Regions from separate parts of the Homo sapiens genome. Here region 1 is linked to region 2. Evidence: promoter capture Hi-C in 16 types of primary human blood cells and fetal thymus (Javierre and others, 2016). All regions are on one chromosome and are shown on one strand. Each heading gives the region's core, a stretch centred on a gene start or on the middle of the fragment in contact. The rest is flanking DNA. Distances are from core to core; before and after follow the strand shown.

Region 1 (2,500 bases), core at 1-2,500, 4.0 Mb after region 2:
CTCCTTGCTTCAGTCTCTCAAGTAGCTCGGACTAGAGGCACACACTACCACACCTGGCTAATTTTTGTATTTTTAATAGAGATGGGGTTTCACCACGTAGGCCAGGCTGGTCGCCAACTCTTGACCTCAGGTGATCCACTGTCTCGGCGTCCCAAAGTGCTGGGATTACAGGCATGAGCCACTGTGCCCAGCCTTTTTTTTTCCTTTTTAAAATAGTGACAAGGTCTCACCATGTTGCCCAGGCTGGTCTTGAACTCCTAAGCTCAAGTGATCTGCCCGCCTGAGCCTCTCAGAATGCTGGAATTACAGGTGCTTCATACTGCTAAGTTATCAAAGGTACTTATTTTTGAAGCTTCCTGTAAATTAAAAGAGGAGCTTGGAACCTTCATTTTGTTGTGACAGTTAATCACGGTTGTTATGTTAGAACTTGCCATGCAGAGCTAGGCGATTTTTTATTTAGGGTACTTCATTTTTATCAAGCATTTGAAAGGGCCACCAAAGAGTTAAAAATAAAATTTGGTTACATTACTGCTTTTGTTGGTGAGAAAAACATTAATTGTATCCTTTAATTGGCTTTAAGTTAAAGACTGACAACATGAACTTTAAAAATATTAAGTATTCTTTTAAATATGGGTCAAATAAGTATTTAACTCTTTAAATTTCAAGTTATAAGCACATCAGTTTAAAGTTCTTACAAATATTGGGGGTGGGCTAGAGTGTGCCTTCTTTGTATTTATAGCTAGAGGAAGATTAGCCCGTGGCGCAATGAAATATGCGAGAGTTAAGGGGTTACCTCCTTGGTGTATTATTTTAATTATTTAATGATTTGACTTTCAGGTTACAGAGAAGATCCCAGTAAGGCATTTATATACAAAAGATATTGACATACATGAAGTTCGTATTGGCTGGTCACTAACTACAAGTGGAATGTTACTTGGTAAAGCTTCTTTTTGACTGATGTGGGCTCATGAATGTTCAGGAGGGTCTGATTTCAGTGTTTTTTAACTAGAGGGCATTCTAAGCCTTTTGTCTGTTTTTATCTATTCTGTTAATACTTCAGACAGGTAATATTAGCACATAGTAGGCACAGGCTACATTTTAGTTTTTGTTCCTTTATTAGAAGTTTATGACCAATGGTTGAAATAAAATCTTACCCGTGATATGCAAATCGTCAACTAATTTGGTCTCTGCGTATATATCCCTCCTAACTTCCATCAATTCTGGTACAGAGATAGAAAAGTAATAGTGTCAGTGACAGGTGATTAGGTTATATGCTTATTTCTCTTGTAGCCTACATCTTAAGTAGTAAAATAGATGAGTCTTTGGACTATTTTAAACATCTACTTCATGAAGATTAATTATTTTCTTAGGTGAAGAAGAATTTTCTTATGGGTATTCTCTAAAAGGAATAAAAACATGCAACTGTGAGACTGAAGATTATGGAGAAAAGTTTGATGAAAATGATGTGATTACATGTTTTGCTGTAAGTTAAAGCTAACTTTCTATGTATAAATGGCAAAGTTAGTAGCTATATCTAGGAACTTTAAAGAAGCTTTACTGAGGTCAGTTTTCAATATGAGCAACAAAATACACCAGTCCCTGGATTAGTGTAAAGACTTCATTCAGCAGTTGAATTGGGAAAACACAGGACATTTTTGAGGAACTCACTAATTCATTTTGACTGAAAACAGTGAACATGAAATTGACCTAGAAAATTCAGTCTAGCTTCTAGGTCAGTATTGTTTCTGGTTCTGGAGATACGTGCTTCATGGTTTACAACCATCAGATTTCTTAACTGTGTAGCCCTTAAAGGCCACCTAATAGTTCTTTAACCTGTAGCTTCCACAGGATAAGCTTTGCTCCTAATTTTAATTCTTAGTTTTTTAGAAAGTTTAAGGAAGCAGATTTTAACTGTTGAATTTTTTTCTGTGTAACAGAACTTTGAAAGTGATGAAGTAGAACTCTCGTATGCTAAGAATGGACAAGATCTTGGCGTTGCCTTCAAAATCAGTAAGGAAGTTCTTGCTGGACGGCCACTGTTCCCGCATGTTCTCTGCCACAACTGTGCAGTTGAATTTAATTTTGGTCAGAAGGAAAAGCCATATTTTCCAATACCTGAAGAGTATACTTTCATCCAGAACGTCCCCTTAGAGGATCGAGTTAGAGGACCAAAGGGGCCTGAAGAGAAGAAAGATTGTGAAGTAAGGGATTTTTTTTTTTTTAACTGTGGCATTTGAATATTGCTTGCCTGGCACAAAATGACATTTAGAAGAACTAGATGATTAGTCTGTTTCATTTACTTTGTGCTGTGCATATTGCTCTTAAGTAATTGTTTCCCCCTTATGTTGACTGTTAATCTTTCCATAAACAAATTTTTGTCCGTTAGTGTAAGGGCTATGAAAACTTAGATATTTAAATTGGCCTTAACAATATTTAAAGAATTATTAGGTGGTGTCTACTGACAGTGAAATGACATTTCTTTTCTTTTCACTAGGTTGTG
Region 2 (6,409 bases), core at 3,910-6,409:
GGAAGCATGGAGAGAGAGCTAGGGCACAACTCAAAAATAGTCTGGTGAGTGGACTAAACAGGAGGGGAATGCAACAGGAATAGAACTAGAAGAAATGTCTTCAAATTGTTGGTGGCTCACCAACTCTTCTGTATTAGAAGCTTAATGCTGGAAGATGGCTGAAGAGAAATGGTTGTTTCATTTTTTAGCCCAAATGCCAAACTTTTTAGGTACAGAAGGAGGAAATGAGATGAGGCAAGGAAAAGGGGAGAAGATGAAGGAGAGAAAGAGGGGGCAAAATTATGCAATGAGAGAGTCAGAGGCGAGCAGGAGGAAGGGGCAGTTAGAAGTAAAACAGAAGGAACAACATTATAGCACCCAGGCTGTTCATGCTGAGGGGCACCTGCAGGTCAGTGCTGGTCTGCCCTCAGCCCTCACCTCGGCCTCCCTCCTGTGCTCATTGGCGCCCAAAGTCCAGAGGGGGCCGAGGCAGCAGGGGGCTGGCATGTCAGCGCTGCCCGAGTGTGCGCACACCCGGCCGGGTTGCAGTAGCGCCGGCCTTGGCCTCAACTTTGCTCTGAGATGAGAGTGGGCACTGGGAGCAGGGAGCAGCCAGGCACTGGGAGCAGACATTTCAGAGCCCGTGGAGCAGGCACCAGGAGCGGGGAGAGACCAGGCAGCAGAACCAGGCATTTCTGAGCCTCCGCGGGCAGCGGGGTCCTTCCCAGCCCCTGGAGAGTGAAGAGATGCCTGGGTCTGCAGCCACAGCTTGAGCCGCAGTAGCTGTGCCTGGGAGGGCGGGCTCCTGGCTGCTCCTGGCCCCCAAGAGCACAGGGAGGCCTTGGTCGGCAGCCACAGCCGGGCGGCAGAGGCTGCACCCGTGAGCGCGAAGGTCCCACCCTATCAACTCAGGAGGGGGCGGGGCTTCTGCCTGTTCCTGGCTCCACTCGCTTCATGGAGCGCTGCAGCCAGCATCACGGCAGTGGCCACCCTAGACGGGCTGCTGCTGCCATCAGCACAACCACAGCGAGGGTGGGCAGCTGCTGCTTCAGCACCAGGAGCAACATGTCGCTCCGCTGCCGGCGTCGCGGGCTCCGCCGCGTCAAGCACCCCTGCAGACGCTGAATTTACCACGGCGAGTCTCTTGGCGGCTGGCTTCCTCCTCCTTCATGTCGTCTGCCCTCCGGCCCGGAGCCAAAGCTAACAGGACCAACCCAGGCAGCTGGGCCAGCCAGGAGCAAGGGCAACCGCATCTCTTGTATACCACCCCACCCTACCTGGGCCACATGGCATCACAGAGCGCCCAGGTCAGCCGCACTAGGGCATGATCAGACTCAGGGTAGAGGCACCACCCTTCAGTTGTCAGGGGCTCAGGGGAAACGGAATTGCACTCCCAGCAATGATGACTAGTTGGAGGATGAAGACACCAGTCACTGAGAGGATGAGGGCTGAGAAAGAGGGAGGTTCATGCAAATACCTGGAGCTGGGCTGGGCTGAGGGTGTCTGTGGGTCTCGTGGAATTTGGGGTACAAAGTCCTGAAGGAGTGTTCCTTTTCCCACTGGGAATACATCTCAGGATTTGAGGGCAGTGGGTTGACTCAACTTCTGTAGCAATTTGGCTCATTCCTCCTTGGATCTGGAGAGTGGAAAGTAGTTTTTCTCTTTGGAGAGAAGATACTAAAAGTTCAGAGGGTACAGCAATATTAGATTTGGCTGTGCCAAAGCAGGAGATAAGAAGAGCGCTATGGTGCCATGCATAGTCCAGGAAAAATAAATGTTATGAAGATAAATATGTCCTCCACATGGACCCTTTTATGTGTATAAAAGAATTGGCAGTTTCAGCAGTCTGTAAACTGTAAAGCTCAACAGTGACAAAAATACAAATAGCTCACATTTAATCTTAGCCTTTGTAATGGGATGCTAAGATGGAATTCAAGGTCTCAGACTGCAATGAGGTCACTAAAGGCAGAGAACCAATGTTTACAGAGAACCCCTCCTTAAAATGTTAGCACTCCCTTGCAGCACTTACAAAGGAAGGGGCTGGTGACTGTTTTTGAGAGAGTTGGCTCATTCCTTACCTAGATGATATAAGAAATTAAAGAGAGGCTGAGAGATTTATTTGGAGACGGTTATTGAAGAGCTGGGCATTGGCAGTAATTTCATTTTATTATTTTAAACAAGATCAAACCAAGAGAACCAAAAATGTTCTTGGGTCTCAAAGTGAGACCCAACATTCTAAGAGTAACCAAGAATTACAAGACCTTTCATTCCCTTGGATGAAACCACAAGGATTTTGCAGATATCTATTAAGGGACCATGAGGAAAGGATAAAGTTTGTTCTCGATGGAGTCCTGCTCTTTTGATGTGAAAGTTACACTTTCATTAATGAGTAAAGTAGCTGGAAAAGTTACACATTCATTAATGAGTAAAGTAGCTGGGACATCTTCCTTCCTACCTTACACTAGTCAGACAAGTATGTTGAGTCACTGATACCACAAATCAAAAGGAATATGCACAGGACACACTGGGCTCATCCTAAGGGTGTTCATGTTTGCACACCATGTCATTTGAGATATTTAGGCTGCAGAGGAGAAGGCTGGGCTAGTCAACAATCATCGTATACCAATAACAAACACACAAACAAGTCCCTGAGATGATTTCAGAAAGTAAGTGCCATGAAGAAGATACAATAGGGCACAGTGAGGTAGAGCATGACTGAGGAAAGGGAGCTTTCTGAATGAGGGATTTTATAGCTGAGTGGGTGATCTTATAGCCGAGATTTACAAGATGAGAAGGGAGCAAACAGATGAACAGCTGGGTGGTGGGCTGGGGGATGGGGTGGGGGCTGAGGGGAGAATTGAGTGCTCCAGAGACAAAAGAACTCCCTCTAGGATACTTGGCACACTTGAGAAATAGCAAAAAGGTGGGAGGACAAAGTGGGAAAAGTTGGGGGATGATGCCAGAGAAGAAGCCAAGGGCCCAATTAAGTAGGTCCTTGAGGCCATGATAAGGATTTTGGATTGCACCACTCACAGATTTTAAGCAAAAGATTTGATCTTTGAGGAAATTTTCCCTGCTTTGTGAGAGTACAAGTTAAAGTAGGAGGCAGATCCATTAGGAAGATGTAGCCACAGACCAGGTGAGAGATGATAGTGGTATGGTAGGCTTAAAAATAGTCCCAGAAAAGATATCTGTGTCCTAATCCCCAAAACTTGTGGAGATTACTTTATTTTATTTTAGATGGAGTCTTGCTCTGTCACTCGGGCTGGTGTGCAGTGGTGCAATTTCGGTTCACTGCAACCTCCTCCTCCTGGGTTCAAGCAATTCTTCTGCCTCAGCCTCCCGAGTAGCTGGGATTATAGGCCCATGCCACCATGCCCAGCTAATTTTTTTTGTATTTTTAGTAGAGACAGGGTTTCACCATGTTGGGCAGGCACATCTCAAACTCCTGACCTCAAGTGATCCACCCGCCTTGGCCTCCCAAAGTGCTGGGATTACAGGCGTGAGCCACCGTGTGCAGCCGATTACTTTATATGGCAAATACTTTACAGAAGAAATTGTCTTAGGATACTGAGATGGAGAGATTATTTGGATTATAAGGATGGACTCTAAATGCATTCACAAGCATCCTTGTAAGAGAGAAGCAGAGGGAGATTTGACACAGAAGGAGGCAATGTGACCTCAGAGACAGAGATTGGAGTGACGTGGCCACAAGTCAGAGAATGCTGGCCACCATTAGAAGCTAGAAGAAGCAAGGAAAGGATTCTCCCCTAGAGCCCTTACAATGGCCTGTGGCCCTGCTGATGCCTTGGCCTCCAGAACTGTGAGAAAATAAATTTGAGTAAAGGGAGCAAGTTTGTGGCTGAAAACAACACACAACACAATTTGTTACAACAATTACAGAAAATTAATACCAGTGGCTTGGAGTAGGGTTTTAGCAGTTGAGAGGGTCAGAAGTGATTGGATTTAAGATAAATTTTTGGAGACAGGACCAACAAGATTTGCTGATGTATATGGTTTAGGTATCATAAAAGGCAAAGAATCAAGGCTGATTCCCTTTTTTCTGAACAAGTGGGTGGATGATGACATAGTTTACTGGCATGGGGGAGGGTACAGGCGTTATTGTTATATGTTTGCCATATTTATGTTGGAGAAAATATCAGCTATCATGTGTCAGCGCTCTCTACATGCCAGGCACTGTCCTACATTCTTTACACGTGTTAGCTCAGTTAACACATGTAAGTCAAGCGGGCAGTAAGATATATGACTGGAGTTGAAAGAGGGCTAGGCTAGGAGCCATCAGTGTATTTAAAGCCATGGAACTAATTAGATCACCCAGGAGAACATATGCAGACGAGAGAAGATCTGGTTCAAGGCCTGAGCCAGGGCACACTTCATCTTTTGGCAGAACAGAGGGAATGGATCCAAAAAAAGGATAGAAGGAGCCAGTGAGGAGGGTGGAAAACCTGGAGCATATGAAGTCACAGAAGTAAAACTGGGGCCCAAAATGTAGAGGGAGCCATAAAGATGAGGAGGACGAGAGCTACATAGTCGCGCTCTTTCTAGGGCAGAGAGGCGGACGGAACTGACAGCTGCTATGTAGCAATATGACCGTCTCAAGTGACCTTGTGAAGCGCCACTGCAGTGGCTGGGTGGGGAGGAAAGCTCCATCAGAGCCATTTGAAGAGAAGAGGATGGGAAGTGAGCGTACACAGAGAATGCAGGCAACTTTTAGGAGGAATTCTGATGGTAATAGAAGTGGGCTGTAGCTGGTGGGACTCTGCGGTCCACAGAGGGCTCTAGCTGGACCCTCTGTGGGTCTTTCAAAGTGACTGATTCTGCATCATGTTTGCGGGTGGCAACTGTGAGGGGGAAATCGAAGGTGAATACAAAACGGGAACAAGTGAAGAGGCAACGTCCCCATACAGGCCGGGTGGGCTGGGGTTGGAGCACAGGAGGCCTGACCCTGTCTCTTCCACTTTCCCTCAAACCTTTGGTCACCAAGCGCAGACGCTCACCACAGAAGCCACCCAACCACAACTGCCGCGGGGCTCCGCGACACGCGCGGGCGACTTGAGTCGGGCAACCACGATTCCCGGCGGGCGTTGCGCGGGGCACCCAGTGCGCAGGCGCACGGCGTCGGCCTCCGACTCGCCCCTCCCTCTGGGGCGCGGGCCTCAGTTCCGGGCTACAGCAGCCGACGCCGAGAGGCACCGTTTCTTCTTAAAAGAGAAACGCTGCGCGCGCGAGGTGGGCCCCTGTCTTCCAGCAGCTCCGGGCCTGCTCGCTAGGCCCGGGAGGCGCAGGCGCAGGCGCAGTGGGGGTGAGGGCGCGTGGGGGCGCACAGGTAAGGCCGGGGTGGGGGTGGGTCGCGACGGGGGCTCTGGGCAGCCTGGGAACTGCCATTGGGATTAGTCCGCTCCACTCACTGTCAGCATTAAGTGGGGGTGCCCAAGACGGGGTGGATGGGGGGCGCCCTCCAGACCTCTGACCACGGCCTCACCGCCACTCGACCCAACTATGAAGAGCGCCCCCAGCTGCACGCCAGGACACGACCTTTCCTTCCCCTAGAAACCAGTAAAGGCCGCTGCCCTATTCAAGATGAAATGTGTGGACCGCCCCCAGCCCAGTTGAAATTTCCCGTGAAAGTCTCTCGCCCCTTCCCCACAGCTCCACTTCAGTGGACTGGAGGGCGCAGGCCTTTGTTCTGACTGCTTCTGTCTGCCTGCCTCCCACCCGACGACACTCACATGGTAGCGCTGAGCTTCAACACCCTGTATCATAGAAGGACGGGGTTTGGCTCCACACCTGCCACTGCTATTGAAATAGTTTAGTCTTGCCCCAGTTCACTGATGAGGAAACTGAGGCCCTAACGGCAGGTGGAGCCGGGTCCCCGACCCCCGAGATCGGCAGGGCGCTGAAGACGTCCCTTCCACCCTCCAGCCTCTGGTGCACATGGCTTCCTCCCCGGCGGTGGACGTGTCCTGCAGGCGGCGGGAGAAGCGGCGGCAGCTGGACGCGCGCCGCAGCAAGTGCCGCATCCGCCTGGGCGGCCACATGGAGCAGTGGTGCCTCCTCAAGGAGCGGCTGGGCTTCTCCCTGCACTCGCAGCTCGCCAAGTTCCTGTTGGACCGGTTAGGGGCCGGGAGAAGGGCTTGGGGGAGGGTACCCAGGCAGCAGCCCCTAGCCTCCTCTCCAGGGCCTGTCCTGCTGCTCTTTTCCACCCTCAGGTTTCTCACTTTACCAGGACGGCCTGTGTGACTTGTGGCCTCCGAGGGTCCTGCTCCCCTCCTCATGGTCTCAGCGAATAGCGGCCCTTAGGGCTGGCCCCTTACATGTGTGAGTGCCCAGGGCTGAGGGTGGCTGGCCACCTGAGTCCTGACCTGCCTCTTCTCCTGCTGGCAGGTACACTTCTTCAGGCTGTGTCCTC

Evidence for each region. The method cuts DNA at HindIII sites, captures the fragments that hold promoters and counts their contacts. A CHiCAGO score of 5 or more calls a contact.
Region 1: a fragment that was not itself captured here is called in contact with the fragment with the promoter of ZNF692 in region 2 in 1 of 17 cell types (fetal thymus); the score reaches 9.0 in fetal thymus.

What each region holds. Positions count from the first base shown.
Region 1 is chr1:244,857,712-244,860,211 of GRCh38, reverse strand. HNRNPU (heterogeneous nuclear ribonucleoprotein U) reads left to right here. Exons shown (of 14, transcript NM_031844.3): 5 at 838-937; 6 at 1,371-1,483; 7 at 1,938-2,201; 8 at 2,495-2,500. Among named protein-coding and RNA genes, the nearest start is that of SNORA100, 4.7 kb to the right of the region's middle. The HindIII fragment of the contact is 609 bases long and covers 946-1,554 here.
Region 2 is chr1:248,857,835-248,864,243 of GRCh38, reverse strand. It overlaps ZNF692 (zinc finger protein 692), which reads left to right and starts at 5,159. Exons shown (of 12, transcript NM_017865.4): 1 at 5,159-5,326; 2 at 5,923-6,113; 3 at 6,385-6,409. The coding sequence starts at 5,935. ZNF692-DT (ZNF692 divergent transcript) reads right to left here and starts at 5,080. Exons shown (of 3, transcript NR_186117.1): 1 at 4,998-5,080; 2 at 1,457-1,615. RefSeq lists enhancers at 474-613, 1,084-1,343, 4,675-4,824, 5,625-5,674, 6,275-6,354 and a silencer at 4,965-5,464. The HindIII fragment of the contact is 15,686 bases long and covers 143-6,409 here.